3 separate regions of the Homo sapiens genome follow, and regions 2 and 3 are each linked to region 1. Evidence: promoter capture Hi-C in 16 types of primary human blood cells and fetal thymus (Javierre and others, 2016). All regions are on one chromosome and are shown on one strand. The core of a region is centred on a gene start or on the middle of the fragment in contact, and the rest is flanking DNA. Distances in the headings are between cores, read along the strand shown.

Region 1 (2,561 bases), core at 19-2,518:
GCAGGGGGTGAGAGGGCAGATGAAGCAGCCAAGCACACATTAAGGCAAATCATGGCTTTCCTAAAGAGGACCCCAAGCTGGGCTTCAGACAGTCTTTGAACCAGCACCAGTGCACCAGGCCAAGGGGAGGGAGGCATCCTCTTTGGGAAGACTGGTAGGAGCTTGGAAGACCCCGTGGCTTCCACAAACTGTAGATTTCCCAGTGACCACTGCTCAGTCCAACAGCCAGTGACATCAGCTCCACTGTCGGGAAGTAGAAAACCAGTGAAGGTCCAACTAGCCTGGTCCCTGAAGCATGACTGGCCCTTCCAGAACATACACCTTTCCCCTATCACCTCCTCTCCCTGACCCCGAAGAGCTTCGGGCACACCACCAACTGACCACCTATCCACAGTGACCTGCAAACCAGAGCGGGGAGGGTATTTGCCTAGCTTGGCAGGGAGGGGCGAGATCCACTTCTGCCACCAGTCACCAGCTGGTCCCACCAGCACCTACCCAGCACCGGCGGTGGACGGTGAGCGGCGTCTGGGCCCAGAGCTGGGTGCCATCAGCAGTAAGAGGACCCCTGCGCTCGCGGGGTGCCCGCCTTACCCCGCGGGGAGGGGTCAGGCCTAGGGGCCACGGCCCGCTTCGCTCTCTGATTTTCACCTCCCCAGGGTCTCCCAGGGGCCTCGGGTGTCCTTCCCGGATCTTGCGCGAAGTCGCGGGGGCAGGGAGAGAAACGCGGGTACCCGCGCCCCTAGAAGTCAAATGTTTGGCAAATAGCATTTGGGAATTCGTTGGGGTTTTTTTGTTTGTTTTGGTTTTGTTTCTGAACCCCCGGGGGATATTTCTGGAAATCTCAACCTGAGTCACTAGAGAGAATCGCGCCTTTTTCTAAAAAGCCCAGGGGCCGTCCTCTCCGGGGAGGGGGACGCGGCGGGCCGCGAAGGGCGCTCGTTCGGGTGGGGGCCGGACGACCCCGCCACGCGCGATCGGGCCACTCTGGGACGCAGGAGCTGAACCCAACCGGAGACGCGGCCGGGACCAGCGCTGGGAGGCCGGACCCCGCCCCGGCCGGGCCCCCACGCCCTCCGCCGCGCCTCGATGCCCGCGACCCGACCCGCGCCCCCTGGCATCCCAGGAGGCCCCAGCCAAGGGCTCAGTGCCCGGGGCCCCCAGCAGGTGCTGGCGCCACCGGCCCCCCGCTGTCTCCCGCTGGTCCCCGCGCCCCGGCGTCCCCGCGCCGCACTCACCGCCGCCCGCGCCGCCTGTCGAGCCGGGAGGTCTGAGCTGGCCTCTCGGGCGCCCCGAGAAAAGGGCCGGGCGGCGGGGACGGGGGCGGGGGCTGGACCCGCCGGGGCGGAGCGCGGCCGGCTTGGGCTTCCGGCTTCTCCCGCCCCCGCGGCCCGCACCTGGGCCCCAGGCGAGACCACCGCCGGTTCCCCGCCTCACTCTGATCGCCCCCAGGCTCCATCCCACACCCGGCTCGCTCGCCACCCCAGAGCTTCCCAGGCTTACCCCCGAGACGCCTGGCGCGGACCTGGTGTCTCCCCCACTCTCCTATCCTGCCCCTGCCTCTCGGTGCCAGCCCCACCCGTCCGCCCCCGACAGCCTGGCCCTCCCTCCTGATTTGCCGCTCGCGGCTCTCCCCACTTTCCCCCCTCCCCGCGCCGCTCCACCACTTCCAGGCGGCGGGACCACCAACCTCGACCCCGGACCCGCGCTGGGGCGCTCCCGGCCCTCTGGAGGGCGGCCCTTCTCTTCCTGTAACTCTACAGACGCGTCCGGACAGACCAAGACACTCTCTGTGCCTTCGGGCATGTTACCCATCCTCTCTGAGCTCGGCTTCCTGTCTGCAAAATGGGCACAATAGCGGTCCTGTCTCCTAAGACCGACTGGGAGTGAACTGGGAAGATGGTAAAGTTTTTAGCACAGGATAGGTATTAGGTAAGGCTTATCAGCTGCCTGTCCGCTTTGTGCCCCCAGGGTGGTCCGTGCCGCCAGGTAGGCCTTTCTCAGCCATCACTGAAAGCAAGCTCTGGAAATCAGTAGCCCCATTTCACATCCGCCCCTAAATGGGTGCCATCTGCCCGTCTGCTTGGAGCCCCATCGGCCGGCTGCAGTGATAACAGCAGCAGCCTGGATCCAGCAGGCTCTCTGGGAAATCATTAGAGGGAATTAAGAAGCATGCCTGGCTTTCAGAGTACACAGAGTCAGGAGATGGGCAGAACCATGATGTGGCCATCCACAAACAAACGCCATTTGGACAGGGAGCTTCCGAGCCCCATGCTGGCAAAGACCTGGATCTTAGAACCCTCCGGTGCCCAAATCCCATGCCTTTACCCGAGGTCCTAAAGATAGTGAGGCCCAGATAGGGAGTGTGGCTTGTCCCGGGTCCCTCAGCAAAGTGTCCCCAGCCCCAAGTTCTTGCCACCTTGCGCCATGTCCACTGACGGGCCACCCTCAGCCGTGGACGAGTTACCAAGTTGGAAGGGATTTCAAAGTTCTCCCAAGCATAGGAGGTTCCCATGTAGATGTTATTAGTGTGGGCAACATTTTACTGCTTTTAAAATATGAAG
Region 2 (2,561 bases), core at 36-2,535, 650 kb before region 1:
ACCTCGCTATTTTTTTTTTCCTACTTTTTGTAGAGACGGGGTCTCACTATGTTGCCCAGGCTGGTTTCAAACTCAAGTGATCCTTCCACCTCAGCCTCTATAAAATTTGAATAAAGTTGTAGATGAGATTGGTCATAGGATTGTATAGTGTATCAATATTAGATTTGCTGATTTTGACAACCCTACTGTGGTTATGCAAATTTGTCCTTGTTCTAAGGAAATAAATACTGAATTATTTAGGAGTAAAGGTGCATAATGAACCCATTTTCAAATGCTTATGAAAATTACACATATACACATGTGTGCATATACACAGGCATGCATATACAAACAGAGGGAAGAGCATGCACGTGTACATGAGCAAAGTGCTAACTGGTGCAACTGGTGAGTTTGGGCGGGCATTGTTTGTGCTCTTGCAACTTTTCTGTAAGTGTGAAATTACTTCATAACAGAGGTTTTTGTTTGTTTGTTTGTTTTTAATTCAGGAAAAAGTTGGAAGAGTGCGTATGAAATAGGCCTGGCAGAAACTATGAGCTGGTGTTCCAAGGTCGGGGATGGGGAGCCCTCACTGGAGGCACCCCTCAAACCCTCAGTGCTGTGGCCAGGGAACCGGGCTGGCAGTCTTAGTTGGCTTTGTTCCCTCGGCCTCCACTTCCCCATTCTGTGCCTCCATTTATTTGTGAGACAGGGATAAAGAGGTCTGCCACTTTTATTGTGATCTTAGGTTTCCCAAAAGCCGAGTATGCTTTCAGAAGTTCTGGGAGGAAAGCTAGCAGATAAACCAGAAATATGAATATCCAAATTGAGAGAAGCCCTCACTTTCTTAGTTCGGCAAAACAGACACATGAGCTGTAAGTGGGGCAGACCCTGCCTGTTTCTTGGCTGAAATCTCCAGTTTGTATAATTCAGGGCTAAGAGAGCAGGACTCTTGACATCTCACTGTCTTGAGACACATACTGGGGTTTTCTCCTGTCTGAAGACGCAGCTGGCACCAATGTACCCTATGGCCAAGGACCTTCTGGGTGAGCCTCATGTCAGGAGCAGAGCTGGAGAGGTGGCCAGGCCTGGGGGTATACTTGCCTCCCTGTGTCACCATTGTCTGTCTCTTGCTTAGATGACAGCCACAGCTTCCTGGCCTGGTTTCCTGCATCCGCCCTGACCCCTGGCTGTGGGATCTCCCATAACTCAAATCTGACTGTGTCCCTGTGGAAGGTTTGGGTTTCTGACCTGGGCAGCTCTATGTCCGGCACAGGGGTTCTGCTGATAGCACAGGCCACAGATTGGCAAGGAGGGACCAGGTTAGGAAGGAGCAGCTGTGGTTCCTAGTTGGGAGATAACTGAAGCCTAGGAAATCCTGGAATAAGATAGACCAATGCATCGATAACCCTCAGCTCCAAATCTGAGCTGCACCAGGACAAGCTGACTCTGGTGGCAACGTTCTCCAGTCTCTGCATTTTCAGCTCGCTGTGTGCCAAGAGAGGGCTGGCAGGTACCAGCAGCTTTCACTTTCATTAGGAACCGGGACGAATAATCCAACTGAGCTGCCTCTGCACCAGAACTGCTGGGACGTGAAGACTCTCCCTGGCTCCCAGGCCAGCCACTGCAGCCCTTTCTCCTGGGAAGGAGGGAGCTCCCGATTCCCCATTCCCTGCTCCTGGGCAACAATTAACACTCTAGGAAAACCACAGAGCCGGCTATCCAGGGTTCTGGTGCCCTGGGGACCACAGGGCAGCAAGAAAGTTCTCCTAAGGGTCCTGGGGCTGGGAAGGCAGAGTGGGAAGTCTCCCCCAGCTAGGCTAGACCTGGACCTCCCTGGCACTCAGGCAGCCTGTCCTCTTCTGCTCACAGGATATAAATATTCATGCATGAGTATAGGTGCAGGTTTGTACATTTGCAAGGGCATGGGTATAACACGCTTTCCATTGTATCCGACTATGAATATGAGTGGTTAATATTAATACATCTCTTACTATATACAAGGAGATCTAAGTGCTTTATGTATATCTCACCTAATCCTCACAACAAGGGAGATTTTCATTATTTCCATCTTCTAGAAGAGGAAACCAAAGTACAGGGAGGTTAAGCAGCATGCCCAAGGTCACAGCTACCCTGGGATGTGAACCCAGGGCCCTGGCTCTTAACCATGACCCTAATACTGCCTCCTCAAGTAGGTGCTCAGCAAATGTTTGAGGAACTGAATTATGTGGGTCCACACATAAGAGAAAAAAAAAAAAAAGAGGGAGCAAAAGTAGGTGCACCTGTTCATCTTGAGATTCATCCTGGGCCCCACTGTGTGACATGCTCCACGCCCTTAGTCACTGTTTCCTGGATTGGCGTGTGGGGAACACATGTGACCACATGAGAATGGCTGAGAAAGAGCAGGACTGACTACCGGCGTTCCCCTGCTTATGGAAAGGGGCCTGGAGATGAGGCTCGGTCAGATCATCTTGAGGTCTTTCCTGGCGGCTTCCCTGCTGCTAGCTACCCCTCTCATACCCTGGGGTTCTGAGCTTCCTCGGCACTTGGGGGCAAGGCCTCCTTGGCTTGGATTTGAGGGTGGG
Region 3 (2,561 bases), core at 24-2,523, 630 kb before region 1:
CAGCCCTGAAAACTGAAGTTAGCCATAAAAGAAATCAGGAGAGGAGGGCCCTTTTCCTGAGTCACTTCCTCTTGGTGTCTGCTTTTCCTTCTCAAGCCTGAGCTCCCTTGACAGGTGAAGTTACCTGGGGCTGTGGGCCCTGGAGAAGCCATCTTAAAAGCCGTGCCCGGTGGCACTCCCAGGGCATCCAGCTAGGCTTCTGGTCCCCGCGCTGCTCAGGACTGGCCTCGGTGATTCTTTTGGTCTCCCCCACCAGCAAAGAGGCCTTGAGGACTGGAAGGTGTCTACCTGTCTCAGCTCCAGCACCTGGCATTCAGGCCTGTTTGGGTAGATGAAGTACAGCACCATAGCCTCTGCAGCCCTTATTTATTTATTTATTTATTTATTTAGACTCTCGCTCTGTCACCCAGGCTGGAGTGCAATGGTGTGATCTCGGCTCACTGCAACCTCCACCTCCCAGGTTCAAGCAATTCTCCCTGCCTCAGCTTCCAGAGTAGCTGGGATTACAGACTTCGCCACCACACCCAGCTAATGTTTGTATTTTTAGTAGAGACAGGGTTTCGCCATGTTGACCAGGCTGGTCTTGAGCTCCTGACCTCAGGTGATCCACCCACCTTGGCCTCCCAAAGTGCTGGGATTACAGGCATGAGCCACCGCTCCCAGCCAGCCCATTTAACTCAGTGAATTTAACAATCTGTTCTCAGCAAATAAGACCATTGCCCTTGGGCTGCAAACCACCCAGATCATTTGAGCCATAAGTTCTGATGGGCTCACTGCACTTGAGAAGGATTGTGAGCATTCCAAGGGGAATTGCATGTGATTTTTGTCCCAGCAACTGCTGTGGGACCCAGCCTTCCTAAGCTGTGGCTCCATCTCTCTAAACCTCAACATTAGCCTGGCTGCAGGCCCCGTGTTAGGCATCCAGCCTGAGCTGTATGTCCCCACTTGCTCTGAAGGCATCAACATGATGGGAAGCATATGAAACAGGTGGCTACTTGCTCTTCTCTCAGTCCTGCTGAATCTGAATTTCCGAGGGGGCTCCAGGAGCCCCCACTTGATTCAGTTCTCCGGGTGGTTCTCTTGCACACTGCAGTTTGAGAGTAGTTGACTTCAAGGGTTTGACGATTTTCTTGTCTCCGTCTGGGTTGGTGTGTCCTTGGTTTAACCCTTCAAAGCATTGTCTGCTATTTTTCTGGGGTTGTGAGTTACATCTAATCTGAATGGGAAATTGCATTACCCAAACCTGAAAAAGCATTGCTGCATTGTCTCCAAAATATTGCTAATGGTCATGGAACTTGGCTTGCATTTCAGTTGGTAACCTTTAATTTCCTTTTCTCTCATTTCTCTCAGGTATCTGTACCACGTTTTGACCAAAAACACCACAGTCACAGAACAGAACCGGAACCTGCTAGTGGAGACCATCCGTTCCATCACTGAGATCCTGATCTGGGGAGATCAAAATGACAGCTCTGTATTTGAGTAAGGGTTTCTAATGATTGCTGTTCTTTGATTATTCTTCTTTGAATGTTTTTCTAAATGTATACTATGAGTCATTCTGGATGATGTCAGGATTTGACGCTAATTTGATCTTGCCTAGATATCTATCTCTGTCTAGCTGTAAAAAAAAAAAAAAAATGCCCTTGAAGCACTATAGAAATGCAAGCCAAAAATGGGGAAGTTATGGAAATGAGTGTCTCTAGAAAACCTGAAAATGTCATGGGTAATTTTCCTTCAGGTTGTGTCTGATTATTTTCCCAAAGGAAGGAGAACATGTCTGGTGGTTAGATTTGACATGAACAGAAGGCCTGTGCCCTGGGGGAGTCCCTGAGGGCTCCCAGTTACCATGTTTACTGATGACCAGGCACAGGGCTGAGCTCCTGATGAGATGGTCCACCTAAGTTTCCCACCCACCCCATGGTAGAGGCCCTGTTGGTGTCCCCTTTTTTGCTCAAGGTCACATAGCTGGTAAGCGGTGGAAAAGTGACACACCCAGAATCAGTGAGGGGTCCCGCAACTCACCACTTCCTAGGTGAGCAGTCCTCAGCCAGGCTCTTCATCTCCCTAAGCCTCAGTTTCTTTACCTTTAAAAGAGAGAGAAAAAGTTCTCTTTGTCTAGTGCCTGGTACAGGAATAAATGATAGCAAATGATAAAGACAGACGTGCCTCACTGGACAGTTAAAAAGCAAGGGCCGCCAGGCGCGGTGGCTCACACCTGTAATCCCAGCACTTTGGGAGGCTGAGGCAGGAGGATCGCTTGAGCCCAGGAGTTTGAGACCAGCCTGGGCAACATACAGAGACCTCGTCTCTACGTATAATTAAAAAATTAGTCATGCATGGTTGTGTGTGCCTGTGTTCCCAGCTACTCAGAAGGTTGAGGTGGGAGGATTGCCTGAGCCCAGGAGGTCCAGGCTGCAATGAGCCATGATCTTGCCACTGCACTCCAGCCTGGGTGACAGAGTGAGACCATGTCTCAAAAAAAAAATAGCAAGGGCTGTTAACTGTGAACTACCTCCCTAATAGATCTGCCTTGATGTCTTAGTGCAGAAGGATTTGGGGCTGGG

The links. Contacts are between HindIII fragments. The CHiCAGO score rates a contact against its expected background, and 5 or more counts as called.
Region 2: a fragment that was not itself captured here is called in contact with the fragment with the promoter of LITAF in region 1 in 1 of 17 cell types (activated CD4 T cells); the score reaches 6.7 in activated CD4 T cells.
Region 3: a contact is called between a fragment that was not itself captured here and the fragment with the promoter of LITAF in region 1, in 6 of 17 cell types (activated CD4 T cells, total CD8 T cells, naive CD4 T cells and 3 more). The highest score is 9.4, in activated CD4 T cells.

What each region holds. Positions count from the first base shown.
Region 1 is chr16:11,585,651-11,588,211 of GRCh38, forward strand. It overlaps LITAF (lipopolysaccharide induced TNF factor), which reads right to left and starts at 1,269. Exons shown (of 4, transcript NM_001136472.2): 1 at 1,236-1,269. RefSeq lists an enhancer at 23-132 and silencers at 1,033-1,112, 1,143-1,622. The HindIII fragment of the contact is 18,010 bases long and covers 1-2,561 here.
Region 2 is chr16:10,936,148-10,938,708 of GRCh38, forward strand. It overlaps CIITA (class II major histocompatibility complex transactivator), which reads left to right. Exons shown (of 20, transcript NM_000246.4): 20 at 1-247. All of the region lies in intron 1 of DEXI (Dexi homolog), which reads right to left. Among named protein-coding and RNA genes, the nearest start is that of DEXI, 5.0 kb to the right of the region's middle. The HindIII fragment of the contact is 5,264 bases long and covers 1-2,561 here.
Region 3 is chr16:10,956,432-10,958,992 of GRCh38, forward strand. It overlaps CLEC16A (C-type lectin domain containing 16A), which reads left to right. Exons shown (of 24, transcript NM_015226.3): 2 at 1,351-1,479. Among named protein-coding and RNA genes, the nearest start is that of CLEC16A, 13 kb to the left of the region's middle. The HindIII fragment of the contact is 8,463 bases long and covers 1-2,561 here.